Linked DNA regions of Homo sapiens: region 1 is linked to region 2. The links are contacts of gene promoters, found by promoter capture Hi-C in blood cells and fetal thymus (Javierre and others, 2016). All regions are on one chromosome and are shown on one strand. Each heading gives the region's core, a stretch centred on a gene start or on the middle of the fragment in contact. The rest is flanking DNA. Distances are from core to core; before and after follow the strand shown.

Evidence for each region. The method cuts DNA at HindIII sites, captures the fragments that hold promoters and counts their contacts. A CHiCAGO score of 5 or more calls a contact.
Region 1: a contact is called between a fragment that was not itself captured here and the fragment with the promoter of CCER1 in region 2, in 3 of 17 cell types (M2 macrophages, megakaryocytes and M1 macrophages). The highest score is 7.7, in M2 macrophages.

The regions. Positions count from the first base shown.
Region 1 is chr12:91,333,699-91,340,775 of GRCh38, forward strand. It overlaps LINC02823 (long intergenic non-protein coding RNA 2823), which reads left to right. Exons shown (of 4, transcript NR_183611.1): 2 at 5,849-5,934. All of the region lies in intron 8 of LOC105369896 (a long non-coding RNA gene), which reads right to left. Among named protein-coding and RNA genes, the nearest start is that of LINC02823, 10 kb to the left of the region's middle. The HindIII fragment of the contact is 3,558 bases long and covers 1,154-4,711 here.
Region 2 is chr12:90,952,247-90,959,105 of GRCh38, forward strand. It overlaps CCER1 (coiled-coil glutamate rich protein 1), which reads right to left and starts at 2,930. Exons shown (of 1, transcript NM_152638.4): 1 at 1-2,930. The coding sequence starts at 2,496. The coding sequence ends at 1,276. RefSeq lists an enhancer at 1,839-1,938. The HindIII fragment of the contact is 2,103 bases long and covers 1,085-3,187 here.

The DNA of each region.
Region 1 (7,077 bases), core at 1,683-4,182, 380 kb after region 2:
ATACATTTAGTACATATGAAATGAAGCAAAGGATAAATAAAAAAGAAAATAGATGGATGGACAGATAGATGAATGCAGAGACCTCAGAAAAGAAGTTTAGCAGGGTAGAAAGTAAAACTCTTCTTTACAATAAAATTCCAACTAACAAAGGTAGAACGAACGATAGAAATAGAAAAATCACTATTTGGAAACCATGCTAGTAATAATTATTTCAGGCAAGACTCATCAAAGAATTATTGCATAAAAGTATAGTGAGAAACAGGATGATTATATAATCTCAAAGTAGCTCACAACAAGATAGTTATTCATTACAAAGACAAAAATGGTAACTTTACATTAAAGAAAATTGGCTGACACCACCTTTACCAAATGGACAGTTAAATTACTGTTTCACTAAAGACAACATGCTGCACTGAGAAAAACACATCACTCCTGTTGTACTCCTGCCAAAAATACATGGCTTAAATCTAATAAGGAAACATCAGACAGACCCAAACTGAGGAACATTGTTCAAAATAACTGGTCTGTATTCTTTAAAAAAAAAGTAACTGTCATGAATGGCAAAGAAAAACTGACTGTTCTAGAGTAAAGGAAAATAAAAAGATATGAGAACTACAGGCAACATGGGATCCTGGATTGGTTTAGAATATTAGTGGTATAAATGGCTGAATTGGAATATGGCTTCTAAGTTAGACTGTAATGTTATTAATGTTAGTTTCTTGATTTTGTTTATTGTAATGTGGCTAAGTGACATAAACTGTACACTAATGTATTTAGATGTAAAGAGTATCATGTTTGTAACTTACTCTCAAGTGTTTCAGGAAAAAAATATATAACTACAGTTATATTTGCATCTATACTTATATCTACATTTGTAATCATACCTATGGAAAGGCCAGGGTTGGAAGAGAGAAATAGGGAGGAAAAGAGGAGAGGGAGAAGAAGGGAGGAAGAGTGAGAATTATAAAGCAAGCAAGAGAGGTAAAGGTTAACATTTGGAGAATCTGGGTTAGGGTATAGTATATAGGAATGCTTTGCTCTAATCTTGCAACATTTTTGTACACCTGAAATTACTTCAAAATTAAAAGTAGAAAATGATAAAGAAAGTGGAGAAGAAGGGTAAAGGACAAGGAGGAGGAGGAGAAGGAGGAAAAGCTTACTTTCAAAAAGATCTTATACCAAAATCATCTCATTTCTAGATGCTCCATAACATTAATAATATAAGTACATACTTACTGAATGAGAATAATTTGTATGGTGTATTAGCCCACGTTCATGGCACTGATAAAGACATATCAGAGACTGGGCAATTTACAAAAGAAATAGGTTTACTGCACTTACAGTTCCACGTGGCTGGGGAGGCCTCGCAATCATGGCAGAAGGTGGAAGGTACGTTTCACATGGTGGCAGACAAGAGAAGAGAGCTTGTGCAGGGAAATTCCCCTTTTTAAAACCATTAGATCTCATGAAACTTAACCATCACCAGAACAGCATGGGAAAGACTAGCCCCCATGATTCAGTCACCCCTCACTTGGTCCCTTCCACAACACGTGGGAATTCAAGATGAGATTTGGGTGGGCACACAGCCAAATCACATCATGTGGGAAAGAGAAAAAAAGATCTAGGAGCGGGAGTTTGGGATGAACTACACGTCTAATTGTACACATTTCCTGTGCTATAACTTCTATGAAGAAAAGAAACAAGCTAATTTTTGTTCACTACTGTTTATGCTGTTCCAATATAATGCCTGGCACACAGAAAATGCTTAACAAATATGTATTTATGGAACCATGTAAGATATCTACTTTATAATTGTTTTAACTCTTATTCTCCTCTTTTGCAATTGTCTTAAAATCTGCCCACTAAACATCTAGATTTCATAAATACATAACTATTCAATCTGTGTAACATTTTTAGGAGAGAACAACTAAATTGTATAAGGCAGAGAGAGCTTATATCTGAGTATTACATAGCAATGAAACATGGGCATCTCTTCACTCTCCAATCCTGACAGGATTTGTGGTTAACTTACATTCTTTTTCCCCTACTGAACAATTATAAATTTCCTTGAGTATTAATTAGTAGCCTTAGCCAGATGTTAAAGTGTGGCTGATAAAATGTAGCATCATATTTCAAACCAAAATCCAAAGTCTAAGCAACATCTAATTTTTTTGGAATGTGGATTGTGAAACTTGAAACTACCAGAGTATTGGATGTGCTAGAGAAGTGTGAAAGGGTCACAACTGAACCAGACACATCAACCAGCCTAAAGGGCAACAGATGGCAAGGAATGTCTCAGAGTTGCCTAGCTTATTTTATCCCTATTCTTGGTAACATCTCCATTTTCTCTTATATTAGACGGTGTACTACATAGGTCCAGCCTCAGAATGCCTGCAAACCAACAGCTCCCTTCAGCCTAAGACAATTACTTAATAGAAGTTTTTAAGCTGACAACAGATGGATACATCACCATACTCTACCCACAGCTGATAAATTCATCAGTGAGCCCTTGACCTGGTGCCAACCAATTCTTACAACCAGTGACACCTATGAGGTGGCCTGGAACAGAAGGTCCAGGTACATAGATAATGGTGCTTATGGTGGAGTTTTCTGTTTTGCTTTGTTTTAAAATAGAATTATTGAAACATGCTCAACATAAATTTTGCACATTTTAATGTGTACAATTTGATTTATGATATATAAACATATATGTATATCAACATATTTATACCCATGAAACCATCACAATGAAGATATTGTGCAGCAAACCACCATGGCACACATTTACCTATGTGACAAACCTGTACATCCTACACATATACCCCTGAACTTAAAATGAAAGTTGAAGAAAATAAATGTTGAATAAATCTATCACCTCCAGACGTTTCCTTGTGCCTTTGCAATCCCTCTCTTACTCCTGTCCACCTTCCTTCCATAGAAGGCAATCGTTGATCTGCTTTTTACCAATCTTTGTTAATTTTCATTTCTTAGTATTTTGTAGAGATAGAAGAACCATACATTGTGTCCTATTTTCAATGGCTTCTTTCACTCAGCATAATTGTTTCACTAACAGTTACATATATGGTGTAGCATAAATTTCTTTTTATTGTTGACTAGTATTCTAGTTTACAAATATACAATGGTTTGTTTATCTATTTATCTGCTCGTGGACATTTGGACTGTTTCCAGTTTTTAGCTATTATATCACAAATAGAAATGATATGAACATTCATGTAAAAGTTTTCATAGGAACAATGCTTTAGTTAACTAAAAATCTAGGAATGGAATAGGTAAGTTTATTTCTAACTGTTTAAGAAACTGCCAAGCTATTTTCTAAAGTGGTTATACCATTTTACATTCATAACGGAGTGAACGGCAATTCTAGATCTTCAATAACCTAGCCAGCACTTAGTGTATAATGTTATCTCATTGTGATTTTAATTTGTATTTCCCAAATAACCAATGATATTGAGTGTCTTTTAACATGTTTATTTAATACCAGTATATGTTCTTTGGTGAAGAATCTATTCAAATCTTTTGCCTATTTTTACATAGGTTGTTTATTTTCTTTATTGTTGAGTTTTACAAGTTCTTTATATATTCTGAAGACACATCCATTGCCATATATATGCTTTGCAAATGTTTTTTCCTATACTGTACCTTGCCTTTTTATTCCCTTAACAGTGTCTTATGAAAAGCAGAATTTTTAATTTTGGTGAATTCTGACTTTATTATAGGCCATGCTCTTGATGTTGTATCTAGTAAATCCTAGCCCAGAGAATCCTGTGTTCTCTTCTAGAAATTGTATAGTATTAAATTTCATATTTAGGTCTAATATCCATTTTGTGTTATGTTCAAATAATGAATTGACATTGATTTTATGTTATGATGACATTTTCATGTGTTTTGCTTTGTTTTATCTTCTGCATATTATTTGATTATTCCAACATCATCTAATGAGAATATGATTCTTTCTCCTTTGACCTGCTTTTACACCTTTTAAAGAATATCACTGTCCATATACGTGTAGCTCTATTTTTGGAATCTCTGTTTTATTCCATTGATCTATTTCTAATATTTGTACAAATACAACATTGCCTTGATTAAAATCACATTATAAGAAGTCTTGATATTAGATAGTGTTAGTCCTCCCACTTGGTTCTTCTATTTCAAAGATGTTTTGGCTTCTCTAGATTACTGCATTTCCCTGTGAATTTTAGAAATTTTTTTTTCATTTTCTGCCAAATCAAAACAAAACAAAAACTAGTACTAAAGACCCATGGGTATAGTATGGGTCTCAGTATACTTAGACCTTCAGTAATTTCTGTCTGCAATTTTAGGCAGTTTTCAGTGCACAGATTTTTTTGGTGTTTTATCAGATTTTTCCTTAATAACTTCATATTTTTGCTGTTAATACATATGGTACAATTTTTTATTTTTAATTTTTGATTGTTGGTTGCTAACATATAGAAATATAACTGATTTTTATATAATCTATAAGTTTGTCAAACTCATAGGTTCTAATATCATTTTATATATTTCATTACATTTTTTATAAAATGTTTGAATAAAGTTTTACTTATTTCTTAGTGACATGAGTGCCTTTAGTTTTAATTTCTTTATCTTATTGCACTGGCTAGGGCCTCTGTTTTAATGTTAAACAAAATTGATAAGACCAGACACCTTTGTATTTTTCCTAATCTTGGGAGAAAGCTTTAAGTCTTTCACTATTAAACAAGATATTAGTTGTATATTTTTTTATATCTGAACTTTATCAGGTTGAGAAAGTTACCTGCCATTTCTACTTTGTTGACATATTGTCAGGAATGAATGTTGGATTTTTTTCAAATGCTTTATCTCATTAATAATAGTGTTGATTTGGTTTGTTCCTTTCAGTTTATAATATGGTGATTTTATCTGATACATTTTTGAATGTTAAAACAACCTTACATCCAGGATAATTACTACCTGGTCATGATGTATTAGTGGAATTATACAGATATCAAAACCAGACAAAAATGTTAACATAAAAGAACATTACATACCAATATTTTTCATGAATAAATATGCAAAAATAGATAGATATGCTACCCAAATTTTAGCAAGTCAAATCCAGTAATATATGATGACTATGTGTGGTTTAACCCAGGAAGGTAAGGTTCAAGAGCAATGGGAAGAGGAATAGAGAGGACTTGAGTAAGAACATGGAGTAAAATGAATTTGTGATGACTTTGATGTTGAATTACCCTCCAGTTCTGCATTAGTGCTATCATAAAACTCAAGTATTCCTTATTTTCTTATTTCAGTAAAATTTCTTTCTCCTGATTTTATATGTATCCTTAGCACAAAACCTCCATTAATTGAGAAATAAAGGTGGGTCTCTGCTCCTTGAAGCCAAAAACTCTTAACTAACAAAACATCCTTGATTATCTTTGTTTGTGATTAGGGTGTGCTTAGATTAAGATGTTTTAATATTCTCCATAATGTAATAGAGTTTATGGATCTTCTTTATGTTAACACTCAGCAGGCCCTCACCGAACAACTGACCTGACAGCTTCCTTGACTCTTCCCAGCCTCCAGAACTGTGATAGATAAATGTTTGTTGTTTAAGTCATCTAGCCTACGGCAAGTTGTTGTAACAGCCTGAACCAATTAACACATAAGGCTTATAAATGGTGATTTTGTGAGGAAAGATTTAGTTCCTCTAAAATTTTGTGAAAGCTTTTTACCATAAGTTGCACTTTAGGACATAAACCCTATTCCCTTTGTGTAAATACATAAAAAGAAGTCAATAAAGCCTCTAGGATTTACACCTCAAACTACTCCCTCTCTATCTTCATTCTGCCAGGTGGATGTCTCCAGGGAGGCCATACCTAATGAGGAGCTCCCAACAAATGGCAACTGATGTTACCTACAACCGAATACGTCAAGAAGGTTAGAAAAACCAATACAAAGTTAGTCTGTCAGAACCTGTGTCAGGCAGAGGGCTCCCGTGCCACATAGTTGCTTTAAGATGTTAATTGATTATAAAGCACAGTAGGCTCCCAAACAACAATTATACTCCAAAATGAAGTGGAAATCTTAATGAAGACATCGAGACACATCATAAGGACTTAAGTAGAATATTTAAAAAGAAAAATTTATCAGAATTCTCTAAAGCAGATTTTTTGATTACACAATGAGAATGAACTATATAATAAGGAGAGAAATATTATCTTTTGAAGAAAAACATCTTCAAAAAATAAAAAAAGTTTTAAACCTAGGTCAAACATCCTTCAAAACCACCCTATTCCATTTATTCTAATAACATACTCAGTAAGTATCACTGTAGTATTTGAGATACACTGAGAAGATTTCACTGGATAATAGATATAATTGTTCAAATTATTTTTCTATTTAGCACATATAAATCAAGCCCCTGTAGAGCTCCAGACACTGTTCTAAACATTGGGAATACAACAGTGAACAAAACATATATAGGTGGTTACAGATGTTATGAAGAAAAAAAAAGCAAATAACAGGGTTATAGGTTGATGGGGCAGGGGGAGTGCTATTTAAATAAGAGGATTGGAAATTAAGTTATAATAATAAGGTGACATTTAAACCGACATGTAGGCAGAGTGATGGAGTGAGCCATATAGAATAAGGCTGTTCCAGATATGGAGAGCAGCAAATGCCAAAAATCCAAAGCAGTTTTATGCTTGGCCATATTCAAAAACCAGCGAGGTGGACAATATGGGAGGAGCAGAGCAGGTTAAGTATCAGACTTCCACACTGGGGATGCTTCAGCCTCCTACCTCCCATTAAAGGTACTTCGTCTCTCATTAAATTCAACAACCTGCTTGCAAAATAAATTATTTAACTTCTGATTCCCCCAAGTACTTATCATCAACTGCTTTTCACATAGGCTTTAAAAGTTTCAACTTGTGTCTAATCTTAACACCACAGGAAAAAATCTTTTGTATTTGCTGTAGACTTTTTTTTATGTCTATGTGGATGTGTCCATCTGCGAAAGGCAATGGCAGGTAAAAGTGTCAGAACTGAACTCTTTTCTGTTCAGATTTAGTTCATTAAACT
Region 2 (6,859 bases), core at 1,680-4,179:
AGCTTATCACCTTGAAAATTGTAATATATCAGTAACAACCAACATTCAGGTAAGACATCACCACACATTCTTCTCTTCAACAAATAAATGCTAACTTGTGGTTCAAAGTCAAAAGATTTAATTTCTGAGAAGGCATGTTTAAATTCATCATCTAGGGATATTCTGGAAATATGCTATGGATGGAACTTTTATCAACTGTCCAGGAAGAAATGTATTATTACTTCCTAAAAATGTTTGAACAAAAGCTATTACTTTGAATGATGTATTCTCCATAGGTAATTGCTGTTTAGACATCAGAAACTAGCTCACACAGACTCACACTTACACATCTTTGTTTTACTCTTCTTTATAACAAAGACAAATTCAAAAACAAAATAAGATATTCCACCCCCAAAAGGTAGATAATCTTTTTATCTAAAAAAAAAAATCCATTCTGGAAAACTATTTTTATGGCTCCTCAGAACTTAGGATAAAGACTATATCCAATAACGAGGCTTCAAAACCTAAGCCATGTTCCACTGTTTGCAGTTACCTTGGACTTTAACTAGATGTGCAAGTTGACTTCTGACCATGGGGAATCCTCTCCATGACTGGATTATGGATTGTTGAGGCCATGGCAGATAACCAGTTCCACAGAAGCAACTTCATGTTCTTCTGAGGAAGATCCATAGCACTGTGGAACAAGGAATATCAATAAGCGATGACACAAGAGCCTGCAAATGAGGTTAACAAAATATAACCCTCAAAAATGAACTCTGATGGTGGAAAAATCTATGAGGAAAAATATTGTTGAAAAAATACAGGGATTGAAAATGGCTTCAGTTATGTTAAGAGCACTGGTGAACATTTAGTAGCGTTAGAATGTGCTTCTTACGCATGTAATAAACTATCTCTTGATTCCAAGCTCATTAAGTGGCCAAGTTGTATAAATTTGTTTCAAAAACAAACGCTTTTTCAGCATTGCCAGATTTAAAAAAACAACAGCAACTCTGTTTTCTAGAGGGGAAAACACCAAATGAAAATATTCAAATGGTAGTAATAAAATACTTGGCCTTTAATCAGTTCCAGTAAAATTATATTTGAAAGCTTCCCCACCACCCACCCATAGTCATACACATACGCATCAAATTTTAAACATTTTATAATGGCCAAAGAAGGTGTTTACATAGATCTGTTTATTAATGGAACTCACTTTTTAATCAGTTTTTAATAAATTGCTAATCCAGTTTAGCCTCAAATCAGTTCCATCCCTTTTCTCAATCCCTTTTCTGATGTCTAACAGTTAAAGTCCTGTGCCATGAACAGGGATTCCTGTGGCACTTTGGGAATTATCTGCTCTGGGTTTAAAAAAGTGCAGCTTATAAAGTTCTCTCTCTTTTCTTCAGCCTCTACGAAGATTGATAAAGGCATTTCCAGAGGCAAGTGAAATTCTTCCCCTCTCTGCTCGTTCTCCTCCAGGACCTCCTCTTCCTCTTCCAGCTCCTCCTCTTCCAGCTCCTCCTCTCCCTCCTCCACATATTCAGCCTCTTCGACCTCTTCTTCCTCCTCATCTTCGACCTCTTCCTCCTCATCTTCGACCTCTTCTTCCTCCTCGCTCGCCTCCTTTGCATCACACACCTCCTGGTCATACTCCTCCTCATCATCATTTTTCTTCTCCTCCTCTTCTTCCACCAGCAGCGGGGCAAGAGACTGGTTTTCCTCTGGGTTGGGACTGAATGCTAGAGAGGGATTCTGCACAAAGCCATACAGAGTTTCCTGCAGTCCCCAGGTTTCCTTGCTGCCGCCAGGGGGCGCGTCGTTTCCGGAGGATCTGGCTGGGGAGGCCTCGCCGCTCACCGTGGCCTTCTGCGCCCGCAGCGCCTCCTGCTGACGCTCCACCTTCTCCTGCTGCCTCATGTCCTCGTAGATCTGGTTCATGATGAATTGGGTGGTGTTGGGCGGCGCTCGCATGCCAGGCTCTCTCCACTCATACAGCTTGACCGGCCGCGGCAGCGTGCTCACATCCGCTGGCGGGCTCCGCGGGTAGGAGTGGCGAGGGTGGTGGCGCAGGCCGCGGCCTCTGCGGCCCCAGCGCTTCTTCCTGCCTGGGGGCTTCACCCAGCCAGGGTTCCAGGACCCGCTCCAGCAGGAGCAGCAGCAAAAGCAGAGAGGGTGCAGGCCATACACCCGAAACACTTGCACCGGGCAGGGGAATTTCCAGAATCCTGGAGGGGGTGGGCGCCAGGGCCCTCCCCAGCACCCCCAGTTAGAGCACACGGGTGGTTGGAACCAAAAGCCCGGGCCGTGCTGTTGCTTCGGCTGCTTCCTTGGGGGCCCATACTCGGTCTTGGGGCTATATCGGTGCGGTCTATTGTACGCTGGAGCACCCGGGCGCCTTCGATGGCAGGACGACCAGGAGCTCAAGGAGGCCGAGTGTGCCCAGCCACAGCCACAGCCGCCGCCGCCACCGCCGCCCAGGTTCAGAGGGTCTTCCCTTGTGTCGAGGGTCTGAGTCATGGTTCAGGGAGCTCCGAGAGGTCCAGATGGTAGCGACCTGAAGCTGTCGTCAAGTTTTGCCAGGTAGGACGGTCAGAAGAGCCTCGTCTCGTCAACCTGTCTCTCCACGCAGCGCCACGTGTCTACCCCTGGGATCACGTTTTCCTCTCCAGGAGGCTGCTCTCTTCCTGGTTTGCACGCTCTTCGGTAGTAATCGCTTGTCCTTCGCACCTGGGTTGTCTCGCCCAGGTGTGCTGGGTGGGACTGGGGCTGGGTAAGGATGGTGGGGGAGGAAGGTGTTGGCAGGCGACACGCAGTGAGACCCACTCCCGGGTCCCCACCACACCCGGCTCTGCTGAGGCACGGGCTGGGGCCGGGGGAGGCAGGGGTTGCGCAGTTACCTGCTGCTCCCTCTCAACCCAGGTGCTTCACTGTCGCCGTCCTGGCAGGACTGTGGTGGCGAGGGCAGCGGCAGCCTTTAAATACTGGCTGTGGTCTCCCGCGTGCCCACTGCGTTCTTGGTCACCCAGGGCAACAGCCAATTGGGGTCGAAATCGTCCTCCCTGTGTGCAAGGCCGGGTTCTGTCCGGAACCAGGCTCCAGGTGAACATTCGCAGGGGGCTTGTGACGCAGCGTTTGGGGGAGGTGAAGAGGGGTCCAGGCTGGGTTTCTGCTGCTCAATTCAAGCAAGTCTGGAGGCAGTTTATCCGAAAGCTTTGTATCACCTTGAGGCGGGGGTTTAGAAGATGGGCCTTCATCTGAACCCGGTGGGGGCGGGAGAACTTGAGTTTTGAAAACCCCACATTCTACACCTTTGGAGGGCCTAAGGGATCATGGAAAATTACTGGAGAAAGGAAACTTTGCCCAACCTCTTACCTTCTGGCCGGTGCCAACTCTTCTTACTCCTGAGAATTGGGATTCATAATACATAAAACAAGACCACGAACATTTATTATTGCATGTGCTCACTGACAAATAATCCTGTCATCTACCCTGAGAGGTAGGCGTATCTTATCACCTGTCACAGATGAGGGAACTGAGAGCTTAATTTCCCCATGGTTGTGGGGCTAATAAATTTCCAGGCTACGATTTAAGCCTAAACCTGTTTGACCCAAAAGTTAGGTTCCTAATGACATTGCTATGTGTTCTACCAAACCCCCAGTAGGACCCTTGTGATAACTAAATGACATAACATTTGGGAAGGTACTTTGCTATTGGTAATATACCGTACATGTGTACCTCAATTAAACAAATATTATTATTACCATAATGAATACCACAGGTTTGTCCTTGGGAAGAGGAATATTCTGATTGTCTTTCCTTTTGTCCCTTCACTGACCATACAGCATATACACGGGAAGCCTTTAAAGCATTGTGGTTAAGCATATGGGTTTTAATTTAAATAAATGGGATTCAACTTCAACTCACCAATTATTAATCTCTGTAAGCCTCAGTTTCCTTACCCATACCATGATTATACTACCTTTTCCATACGGTTGTGTAAAGAATTAAATGCATATAACAGGTCCTCTAATATTAATGTTTTGCTCAATGTCATTTCCTTATAACGTTGCTGAGGCAAAACAACAACAATAACAAAACCACGTTTCATTATATGTCTTCTCATTTAAAAGTAGCAGTTTCCAAGAACCTATGATGCTAAGTGAGGACTTACTGTAATTCCTTCAAGTACTTAGTGCAGGTACCCTGTAAGTACTCAGTAACTGTTAACTATCATCCTTATTTGTAAATACTTCATGACTTCTAAAAGAGATGATATAGTATATGTAAAGGCACTTGTTCTTGATGCAAAAATAGGCATCCCCACCCTGGCTTGTGTCCTTTTCTTGTCCTTCTTTGTAAAACGTCAAGGAAAGTGCTACCATACTTGGTCCTAGAGAAAACCGTCTCAGTTTATATCCCTTTCTTACTTTTCTGTGCTGAGTGGAATTGCACAAAATGGAAAACTGCCTGCTGGGAACTTCAGTCTATATAAGGCTCCATTAAATGCCAGAAAAGCAAAATGTGTGAAAGCCCTGAAGCTGGCAAAGGTCATTTATGCATTCCTGGCTGAAAATTGAGAACATTATAGGGGGTCTTGGATCAGGACTCCAACATTTGCCCTGAGACCTGTAGAATCCACAGGCTTCATTTAATTTCATTTGCTCTGTGGTTTGCTGAGGACACCCCTGCTTGACTCAAAGTACAGAATGCTGACATGTTTAGCCTGCAGTATCCCTTTCTAGATATGGACTCACCTTTGGCAGTTATTCTGACCCTGCTCTGTGTACTCAAAATGGAATGGTGAGAGCCCAGTTTTATTTTTTTCTAAGGACGTGTGTTATGCAAAAATGGGTTTTAATTGAGAGCATTACAGATGGACCATGTTGCTGTGTTGAAATTCCAATCAGTTTCTTTTTGTTTTAAAAGAGATGGTTAACTCATTTTACAGGTAATTAAGGACATCATTTTTTGATCAGTTGATGTGACCTTTATACAGTTAATCTTGGCATTATATACTTTTTGCATGGTGAGAATATTTATTCTCCCTACTGAACAACATTGACACGTTATTGGCTTGCCCGAATTTTCTTAAGAGAAGCAGCAATTTATTATTTTGATTATGATTTTAATTTTACAGAGATTGGAATTATAATACAAGTTTTGAATGTACTGGTAAATCATCCAAGAAAATTTACCACTAAAGCATGTTAAACAAAAAGTCAGACATTTAATTAATTTTTAAAGACACTTTTATAGTTCTTTTTTTAGTGACAAATTATTGTATATATATATGGCACCATGTGATATTTCCATACATATATACTTTATGAAATGATCAAATTAGGCTAATTAGTATATTCAAGTATTTGTCGTTTAATTGTGGTGAGAATTTAAAATCCTCTCTTATAGCTATTTTGAAATACACAATACATTGGTGTTCATTGTAGTCACCTTGATGTGCATTAGAACACCAAAACTTACTCCTTCTCCCTACCTGTAACTTTGTACCTGTTGACCAATGTAAGGACACATTTTTAATTGACCCATATTCTTTCAATACCATGAAATGAAATATTCTGATTCAATATTGAAATATAACACATTCATCCTGTTGTTGAATATTGTATTAGCTTTCTGTTGCTGCATAACAAATGATCACAACCTTGGTTACTTAAAACAATATACATTTATTATCTCAAGGTTTTCAGGAATCAGGGGTCCAGGAATATCTTAGTGGGCCCTTTGTCCATGGGTGCAACAGGCTGTGATATGGTTTGGCTGTGTCCCTACCCAAATCTCATCTTGAATTGTAGCTCCCATAATTCCCACATGTTGTGGGAAGGAGCCAGTGGGAGATAATTGAATCATGGGGGTGGTTTCCCCATACTGTTCTCGTGGTAGTGAATAAGTCTCACGAGATCTGATGGTTTTCTAAGGGGAAACACCTTTCTCTTGCTTCACATTCTGTCTTGCCTGCCACCACGTAAGACGTGATTTTGCTCCTCCTTTACCTTCTGCCATGAGTGTGAGGCCTCCCCAGCCAAGTAGAACTGTGAGTCCATTAAACCTCTTTTTCTTTATAAATTGTGCCGTTTCGGGTATGTCTTCATTAGCAGCATGAGAACAGACTGCTACAGGCTGTAATTAAGATTTTGAATGGTTTGAGTTCTCACTGATGTGCTCAATTCAGAAAAATTCACTCCTAAGATCATTTATGGCATTGGCAGAATTTATTCCCCATGGCTGTAAGACTGATGGCCCTGCCTTTTAGCTCTCTGTTGGCTGGAGCCCAGCTTTAGGACTTGAGGCCACCCACTAGTCCTAGGGGCTAAGGGCGGTTCTTAGACACTGCCCAAAGCAAGAACTGTGGGCTTCCTCAACGGGGCTGCTCACATCATCTAACTGGCAAAGAAAATCTCCATAGTTTCTCCTAGCAAGATGGAAAGTTACAGATGTAAATACAGACATATACACGTGTGTGTGTGTGTGAAAGTGTGTGGCTGTTTATGATAATCCTGGCCTTGACATTCTTGCCTTAACATAATCCTGGGTTTTCCATCACCTTTGCCATAGTCTGTGGGTTAGAAGCAAGGCCCAGGTCCCCGTGGACACGCCGTGTGGAGGGGTTGGGGGAGTGGGTATTACACAAAGGTGTGAACACCAGGAGACCAGGAGGCAGACAATCTTACCATCAGTTTCCCACATATGTAAAGTAAATTGAGTCAAATATGTTGTTCATACTCACTTGTTGCTACTTTATTTGGAAGATTTTAATGACACTGTTGGCCTTTTTCAAATTGTAATAAGTGCCGTATGATGGCGTAGGCTCTGCTATGTTTTATGTTGTGCAGAGCATTATGTTTTTAAGTTGAAAACATAC